2 separate regions of the Homo sapiens genome follow, and region 2 is linked to region 1. Evidence: promoter capture Hi-C in human tissues and cell types (Jung and others, 2019). All regions are on one chromosome and are shown on one strand. The core of a region is centred on a gene start or on the middle of the fragment in contact, and the rest is flanking DNA. Distances in the headings are between cores, read along the strand shown. Region 1 holds the start of APOBEC2 (apolipoprotein B mRNA editing enzyme catalytic subunit 2). Region 2 overlaps LOC101929555 (a long non-coding RNA gene).

The links. Contacts are between HindIII fragments. The study calls those that stand out against the background at their distance.
Region 2: a contact is called between a fragment that was not itself captured here and the fragment with the promoter of APOBEC2 in region 1, in 4 of the 25 tissues and cell types used here (bladder, heart right ventricle, mesenchymal stem cells and 1 more).

What each region holds. Positions count from the first base shown.
Region 1 is chr6:41,050,218-41,054,748 of GRCh38, reverse strand. It overlaps APOBEC2 (apolipoprotein B mRNA editing enzyme catalytic subunit 2), which reads right to left and starts at 1,547. Exons shown (of 3, transcript NM_006789.4): 1 at 1,271-1,547. The coding sequence starts at 1,401. The HindIII fragment of the contact is 7,265 bases long and covers 609-4,531 here.
Region 2 is chr6:40,967,909-40,972,368 of GRCh38, reverse strand. All of the region lies in intron 1 of LOC101929555 (a long non-coding RNA gene), which reads left to right. Among named protein-coding and RNA genes, the nearest start is that of UNC5CL, 69 kb to the left of the region's middle. The HindIII fragment of the contact is 6,341 bases long and covers 1-4,460 here.

The DNA of each region.
Region 1 (4,531 bases), core at 298-2,797:
GCTGCCTTAGGCTTTCCCTGTGTCTATATTAATCTGTGCCCAGCTGCTCCCTTAATCCTAGGATGAGGGTGAGATTAGTTGGGTGGGCATGGGCAAATGGAAATTCAGGGGCTACTCTTGCCTCAGGAAATAGGATGCATTTTCCCTTAGGTTCTCTTGAAAATCAGAAAACATCTGAGCTGGAAGGGACCTTACTACTATAGATCTTCATGTTATAAGTGCTAAAACTGTGGCTGACTGGAAAATCACTTGTCAAGCTTGAAATATCAAGTCCAAATTGCCACTCAGGGCTTCCTTTCCCCCTTGAAAGCATCATGCCTCCTTTCTTCCTGAAACTTCTCTTAGTCTCGCACCCACTCTGCCTGTGGTCATTCCTGGAGACCCCATGAAGGGAACGTTTGGTTCAAGGAGGAAATATGGCCTCATAGATTCTCTTTTTATTCTTTGCTCAGGATTTAGAAGGGTCTTCCACTACAGGAATAGAAAGGGAAGAGGAAGAAGACTACTTAGTTTTATTCCTGGAGATGGCATAATCTGGATAAGACAGAGGTACCCTGCACACAGCCCCCTCCTTGCAGTCTGTAGACCCTTTTCTTTGGGTCCCAGTTCCTCCAGGCAATGCCTGAGCATGTTGGAACAGCTCCTGTGTCCATAAGCTCCTGGGCTGCGTTATCTGCATGTAATTTCTCTGTTTCTCTGTGGGACAGCCCCTGAGGAGACTCAAAAGATTTAATAAGAAAAAAGCTGCTTCTGAGTCTTGGGAAAGGATGGATCTATCTTTCCTGTCTTGGGAGCATCTACTCCAGGAAGAAGCTCTAAAGAAAGGGCTAGAGGCCTATGGCTAGCGGAGAGACCCACTCAGGAACAGAGAAGTTGAGGGGAAGGGTTGCTTTGAACGGAGCCACATATAGATGTGCCAGTCTCATCCTCTGTCCTCGCCAAACTCCCTGGGACTAAGCTTCTACCCAGAGAGGCAGGTGGCCATCCCAATACCAGGAGGCCTGAAGGGTGGTTTTATTCTCTGGGCTTTTGCCTCCAAGGAGCTCCTCCTACCTCTCCCTGATTAGAGAGCCCAAGGTGTCACCCTGAGAAGCCAAGAGAATTTGCTGCTGGGTCCCCTACCACCCCTGCCGGGCCCACTGGTGCACTCTCACTGCTGCAGGGTTGTAGCTGTCCCTGACGCCTAATATAACCATCCTGAATTTCCACAGCCTAACCCAAGGCTGCACTCTTCTAGGGAGCAGAACCCTGACCCACATCTGAGGCTTACCCTGTGACAATCTCAAAGGGCGGCAGCTCAATCAGCTCTTTCAGCTTCTCAGGGTCGTCCAGGTTCTCCAGATCCTCCCCATTCTGGGAGGCAGCCTCAGTGGCCACAGCAGCCTCTTCCTTCTGGGCCATGGAGGGGCTGTGGCTCAGGAGTCACTGAGGGAGAGGAGAGAGGCAGGCAGGTCTGGGCCAGGCCCTGGCGGCAGAGTCCCAAGCAGCTGTCAGCAGCTAAATCTGGCTGGGGATGACGGGAAAAGGACCCAGCAGGCCAGGCTTCGTGCTTTCCCCACTTAGCCACAGGCTTTATAGCCAAGGCCTCCTGCCCCTCCCCCAGGCTCTCTCCCTCTATCTTTTTTTAATTGAGTGACAGCGGGTGCTGGGGTGGGGGAATGGAAAATCTGGCCATTAGTATCCCCTATTTATCAGTAGGCAAAGACAGGAACCTGGCAGGTGGGTATGGCTTGGCCTGCTCTCTTCTCCCTCTCCCTCTCAGCTCACCTTATGTTCTCCCCTTTGTTTCCCACCCAAATTCCCTAGCTCCACTGGGGGAGAGTGTGGAAGGGGCCCCAGGGCAGGCATCCTGAGATTTAGGAGGGTGGCCTTCTGAGATTTAAACAGGAGGAGATGTGTGTTGAAAGGGGCTGACTGCAAAAAGACCCAGGCCATTTGCTTTGGGGGAACGTGGGTTCAGGAAAGGAGGGGTCCTGGCAGAGGTGGGATCAAAACTGACAATTTGGGGAGTAAGTGTGTGAGTTATGACTCAAAAGCGGTGGGTGCTGATTTGCCTGTTACAAAGCCATAATGTAATGTCAAATCGATCAGGAGCCTCCCTGAGTAACAATAGCTGCCATTTACTTAGCTCAGAGATTTTGAAACAGGCCAGGCAGTGGGTTTAGGGGTTTAAATGAAATCAGATGCATGCTTGCCACAGCCATGGGAGGCGATGTGTATTATCCCAAGTTACAGGTAAACTGAGTCACAGAAGTGTGCAGAGCCGGGATTAAAATGCAGGCTTTTGTACTTCAGGCCAAATATTCAACCTCCATGCTATGTGCCCTCACAGTCAGTCTTTTATTCTTCTTAACAAATATTTATTGAGTATCTACTCTATGCCAGGTGCTGTTTCAGGTACTGGGAATATGGCAAAAGAACAAAGCAAATGAAAATCCCTGCTGTGATGATTTGTGGAGCTTGAGGAACTGAACAACAAATAAGGTAAGTAAAATACATGGTCTATTTTGTGATGACAAGTGCCAAGGAGAAAAGACAGGAAATGGAAACAGGAAGTGCTAAGAGGTGGGGTTACGTACTTATAGGATGGCCAGGGTGAAGGACTTTGAAAAGGAGACAATTGAAGAAGACGTGAAGAAGGCAAGGGAACTAATCATTTGGTTGTCTAAGAGGAAAGCGTTCCAAGGAAGGGAACAACGTGAGCAAAGGCTCTGAGAAGGGAGCATTCCTGGGGTGTTTGAGGAACTAGCGAGGACATACATCTGGGTGACTGAAGAGTTCTAAGAGATTAAGCCAGAGAGATAACAAGGGTAAAAGGGACTGGGGCCTTATGGGCTGTCATAAGTACCTTGCTTTTTCTCAGACTGAGGTGGGAAGCCATTGTCTCTGAACAGGTGAGACAGGTGGTCTGAGCACTTGGGAAGAGCAGAGGCAGGGGACCAGTGAGAAGCCTACTGAGGCCAGAGAGAGATGATGGGGGCCCATAGAAAAGACCCTGAGCCGGAACAGCAGCAGAGGATGGCTAGATGATTTTTGCAGCTCTCATGATGGGTACTTAGCAGAGGCAAAAGTCTTCGTGTTTGGAGCAGTGCAAACACTCTAGGCCATTCTCAGGGAAGCAGAAGGAAGGGGTCAGGGTCACTTGTAGGTTGAAAATGAGGAACCTAAGAACACTGGGGAACGGATCTGAAAACAGCTCCAAATGGGTTTGGCTGGTGGGGATGAGAGGGTAGGGCACCCTTTGGAGGGTCTGACTAAAGAAGAGGAGTCAAGATGGTTTGGAAGATTTAGGGCTCACTCCTCCAGAGAGTCTGAGCAGCAGAGTGCTCTGTTAGTGTGATGCCCAGCATTTTGGTTTGCCAGTCATGGTTTCTTCCTGTTGTCCAGACATAATTACTAATAGCACCCCTTTACTCCCAAAGGTGTCCCGCTGTGGACAATAAATTATATGGTCCCCTACCTTTTGGATTTACTACTAAAAGGATTATTATTATTTATTTTTTGAGATGGAGTCTCACTCTGTCACCAGACTGGAGTGCAGTGGCACGATCTTGGCTCACTGCAACCTCCGCCTCCCGAGTTCAACCGATTCTCCTGCCTCAGCCTCCAAAGTAGCTGGGACTACTGGCATGTGCCACCAGGCCCAGCTAATTTTTGTAATTTTAGTAGAGACAGGGTTTCACCATGTGGCCAGGATGGTCTCCATCTCCTGACCTCGTGATCCGCCTGCCTTGGCCTCCCAAAATGCTGGGTGGCATGAGCCACCGCGCCCAGCCACTGAAAGCATTTTTATCTGGATCTTATTTTTTCAAACATTTTTCGGGGGGAATAAAGCACTGAGTAGAGATAATAGTGCCTGTGTCCACAATAAAAAGACAGTGGCAGCTGATAAACTGCAAAGAATGTTGTTATCACACAAACATACCACGTTTAAATGTAAAGAGTTTACTTCATTTTCTTGTTCAGTCAACATTTATCAGAGGTTCCTATGTTCCAGGTGCGGTGGTAAATACCAAGAGTACAGAGATAAATAAGGTGCTGGCTCACCAGGGGATCCCAGCTTTTATCATATTTGGGGCATTAATCAAGCATTCAAGCATGCATTATCTCATTTAGTCCTTACACCAGTCTCACATGGGTGTGAATTATGGGCCTCATTTTGCAAGTTAGGGACTTGTGGCTGAGAAAGGTGAAGTGATTTGTATAAGATCACACGGGCTTTGAGTTCAGGTCTTCAGAGCCCAAGTTCAAGTTTAGCCTATTCCCAGGGCTGCGCACAGCTACCTTTGATGAAACATCTCTGAAGCATTATAAATGTGCATCCCTCTCACACTTCCCAGGCCCAGCTAGGGTGATATGCTTGGATCAACGGAGGAAGAGTAAAATGTCTTGGGGAGGAAAGCAAGGAGGATGGATCCTTTCAGTTCACTGTTCCCCTGCAAGAAAGACTTCCTCCCTGAGGACAGGGCCTTCTATTTTGGCTGTCATGTATAACCCTGGATTAGGAGGCAAAAAATATTCTACGTTCATA
Region 2 (4,460 bases), core at 44-2,543, 82 kb after region 1:
TGGATGCAGCTGGATGCCATAATCCTAAGAGAATTAATACAGAATCAGAAAACCAAATACTGCGTGTTCTCACTTATAAGCGGGAGCTAAACATTGAGTATACATGGCATAAAGATGGGAACACTAGATGCTGGGGACTACAAGAGAGGGATGGAAGGAGAGGGGCAAGGGTTGAAAAACTACCTATTGGGTACTATACTCACTACCTGGATGATGAGTTCAATTGTACCCCAAACCTCAGCATCATGCAATATACCCTTGCAACAAACCTGCACATGTACCCTCTGAATCTGAAATAAAAGTTGAAATAAAAAAATAGAACTTCTTTTTGTTCCTCAAAGATGGACTGAGCTACACCAGTACAATAGTAGTGAGTTCCTAGACACAGGGATATCCTAGTCTTAGCATCATCTCAAGGACAGAAATAGACATTCTGGTGCCGTCATGGTTTCCTCTGTGTCCATGGACATGGCTTCAAATGTTTTACAAAACAAAGGAAATGTTGGTTTATAAGCATTCATCATGGGCATAGTCACCAACATTTCCTTTGGGTACCGTTGTCCTAGATTGGGAATGGTAAACACATTTCATCCCATGTGCCCGTTCGTATGTGTTTGTGGTGGCTGTCTAAAGGGCTAGTTGAGTAGTAGTATCTTGCTCTCTCTGGGCTCAGCAGAGAAGCACATTGTGAGCTTATTGGCTATTTGTGTAACTTTTTTGGAGAAAATATATACAGTATTCAAGGTTTTTTAAATTTTCTTGATGATGTTCTTTGAAGCACAACATTTTTAAATTTTGTTAATGTCCAATTTATATGTCTTTTTCTTTGATTGCTTTTGGTGTCATATCTAAGAAACCATTGCCTAATCCAAGGTCATGGATTTATACATGCATTCTCTTTTAAAGTTTAGTAGTCTTAGTGCTTACATTTAGATATTTGATCCATTTGAGCTATTTTTTTATATGGTGTGTGATAGGGTTCTGAATTCATATTTTGCATGTGGATATATTCTGTTATCTAGCACTATTTGGCAAAAAGCCTATTATTTCCCCCATTGAATTTTCTTAGCACCCTTGTTGAGAATCAGTTGACCATAAATATGAGAGTTTGTTTCTGGACCCTCCATTTTATTCCATTGATCTATATGTCAGATATGGACGACTTTTAAGTTTTCTCCCAAATTCTTGGATTCTTGAATTTTCTACATAGATTCCTAGTAGATCACATTATGTCTACAAGGTAGAATCTACCAACACCTTGATAAAGTTTGTGATAGGCAAATTGATGCTTACTTGATAAAACTTTGGAATGCTTCTGCCTGCAACTAACTGAGCTCTTGACTAAAATAGGCTTAAGAAATATGGAAGCTTAATTGTTCCTTGTCACAGAAAATCTAGAGACTGGTGGTTCCATACCCCATTCCCATTGGTTTGGAGTTGGTTTATTTAACAGCTCAGGGCTCCAGTCAGTATCTCTGCAATTCTTGTGACCCTTTCCTCATGTTGCAAGATCATTGCCACAGGTTCAAGCATCAAGGCCTCACATAATAGCACCCAAGGTAGGAACAGTGGGGGATTATTCTTACAGATTTCTCTCTTCTATTAAGAAGAAAACTCTTCCAGTGGGCTAGTGTCCCACCTCATGTGGCCAGGATTGAGTGACATAGTTACCCGTAACCACGGAAATGTTGGAAAAGTGCCCACTCTTAACTCTTAGAAATTAGACAAGGAGGGGAAGGGAGAGAATGGATGGAAAAGACAACTACTCTCTACTCCCTAGCTTGGTGGAGTTGAAGGGGTGGATGTCTATGTTGGGTGCCAGGGATAGGTGAGATTCTACAGGGTTAAGAGCTGGAGCCAGTGGCTTTGCCCTGAGCCAATAATCTGAGTCAACATTTGAGATGGAAAGGGCTAGAGATGTACGGGAAAGACGTTCTAAGCCACAAATCATGCAAGAAAACTTAGAAAGAACACCAAATCTTTCAGCCCAGAGGCAGGGGGTGAACTGATGGAACATAATCAAGAGATCCAAGCATGACAGCCAAGAGTAAAAACCAGTGAAGCTCAACTGGAGCAATTCCTTAGCACCCCAACTGCCACAGAGGCTGGTTTTCATGAGCTGGCAGGCCCAGGGCATATGTAGATGGCCTTGGGTTAAAGACCCAGGATTTAGGCACATCATTTGTGCTTGGTATTGTGTCAGACAACAAAACGATATCTGGGGCTGTCTCCTGCCTTCAAGGACTTTCAATCTTATCATTTATCCAGAGAACATGACTGACACCTGTGAAACAGAGAAAACATTCCTGTGTTAGACTGGTTCTCAGTGCAACATTGAGTTCATGCCCTGCCTCAATGTTCTAGGTCAGGGCAAGCTAAACTCCTGTAGAAGTGACTCTTAGCACCAGGGATAATGCCCATGATCATCATAATCATATTCACCATATTCATCATGGGCATAGTCACTGACATTTATTGAATACTTACTACATGGTAGACACAATTCTAATTTTTTTCCTGTGTTTATTAAAGCTTCCAACAACTCAATGGAGCACATACTTTTATTTTCATCCCTGTTTTATATATGAGAAAACAGTTACTGAGAGGTTAATTAGCTTTCTCAAGGTCTTGTACAGCAAGGAAATGGTGGGTCAGGCATTAAAACTCAAGCATTTGGATGCCAAAGCTAAGGGCATCACAGCACTGCTTCCCACCTATCAACACTTTGCTGCGGAGGAGATTCCTGTATCTGCCTGAAAAGGTGGGGTGTACTGATGTTGGAGAGGTGTGCTGATCCTGTGCTGGGTGGTCCTGCCCTCTCCGTGCCTCAGTTTTTACATGTATGAAATGAGATGGTCCCCTGACATTCTCTAGTCCCTGAGGCCCAGAGGTCCGTGGACAGTACTCTGGAAAGCAGGGCAGCCATGGCTGATGCTTGGTAGAAGTTTCAACTCTCTCTGGCCCTTAAATCTTAGCTTCACTGAATCCTCACAGACAGAGCTACAATGAAGATCCAATAAAAACTCTGAAACATCTCAAACACTGTTGACAGGAGCAAAGAGGATTCCCTGTGGGAGGATCAGGCGAGGGGGAAAGAGGTGAAGGATTTGGAAACAATGTGTCTCTCATGATTCCTCTTCCTCAGGAAGAGACAGGGAGTGTGAGCAGGTCAGTTCATTATAACTATTTACTGCATTGATTTCCGTTGCTTTGATGAGGAAGACTTCCAACAGGAGATGCAAATTGCCTTGGGACCTGCAAACCCTGCTAGCTCAGCCCTGGCATTCTCAGACCTGAGCAACCAGTGTGCTGACTACTCCCCCCATGAATAAATGTTTCTGAGTTTTAGTGTGAACAGGGAGAAGAGCCCAGGGCCATGGGGTGATGCAATTTGGCCATGTGATGTTGGCCTTGGAAATCTTCACTGGTGAAGATATCATCTTCCCAGTCTGTGGTCCCAAAAGCCTGCCTCCAGCAACTTGCTTCTGTGGGTCAGATGGCTGGCTCCACCACTGAGCTTGAGGAAGTTACTTAACTTCTGTAGCCTCAGTTTCTTCATCTGTGAAATGGGGAAAACAGCAGTACTTATCTCCTAGAATTGCTATGAAGGGTAAATGAGTTACTCAGTGTAAAGCACCTAGAAGAGTGACTGGTTCATGGTAAAGTGCTATAGAAATGTTAGTTCTCTGATGTTTCCTGGCCAGACTGGAAGCTTCCTAAGGTCAGGGATCTTGACTACCAAGTATAACATCACGCCCACAGGGCCTAGATCTGTAATAGAGCCTCAACTTATATTTGCCATATGACTGTTGAATGAATGAGAGTGCTTTGCAAACTGGTAAATACAAATAGGATTCTGGCAGTATTACTATTTATTATAAGTTGTTGTTGCCCTGTTTTCCTTGGGATTCTCCTATAGTTCAGAAGCTGAAGAGTACAGGAGACCTCAGGTCTGGTTCATTGGTCTGATACTTCCTGGGCTCTTCAGGGTCCTGGGGCCTTGGGGTCTTTACAATCTCAGGGACCTAGCTACTAGTAGGCATTAGACAGGGACTTAAAGACAAAGGTTAATTGAGAGGGACAAGGCAGTGGCTCAGTGTTAGAGACCTACTGCATGCCTTCATCTAGAAAACTCTTTATTTAACTGAAGCAAGCATCTGAAATTCAAAATCTTACAGGGGTCATAGAGGCAACATAACAAAATAGAGCTGGGGGATAGTATTTTTGCTGAATCTTGTTTGGGTTGTGTTGTTTTGAAACACATGCACTTAACCATATTGAACTCATGATTATTCTTCACTTGCATCAAGAATTATACTCACATTATCTCTCACTGCACTATCCTTGTGGTCCAGGCTTGCTTTTCCTAGTTCTGTTAGCGACATGAATGCAGAAAAATGTATTCCCATTGTTGGAAAAATAAGGGAACAGATGTCAAGGTAAGTGACACCTGATTCCCA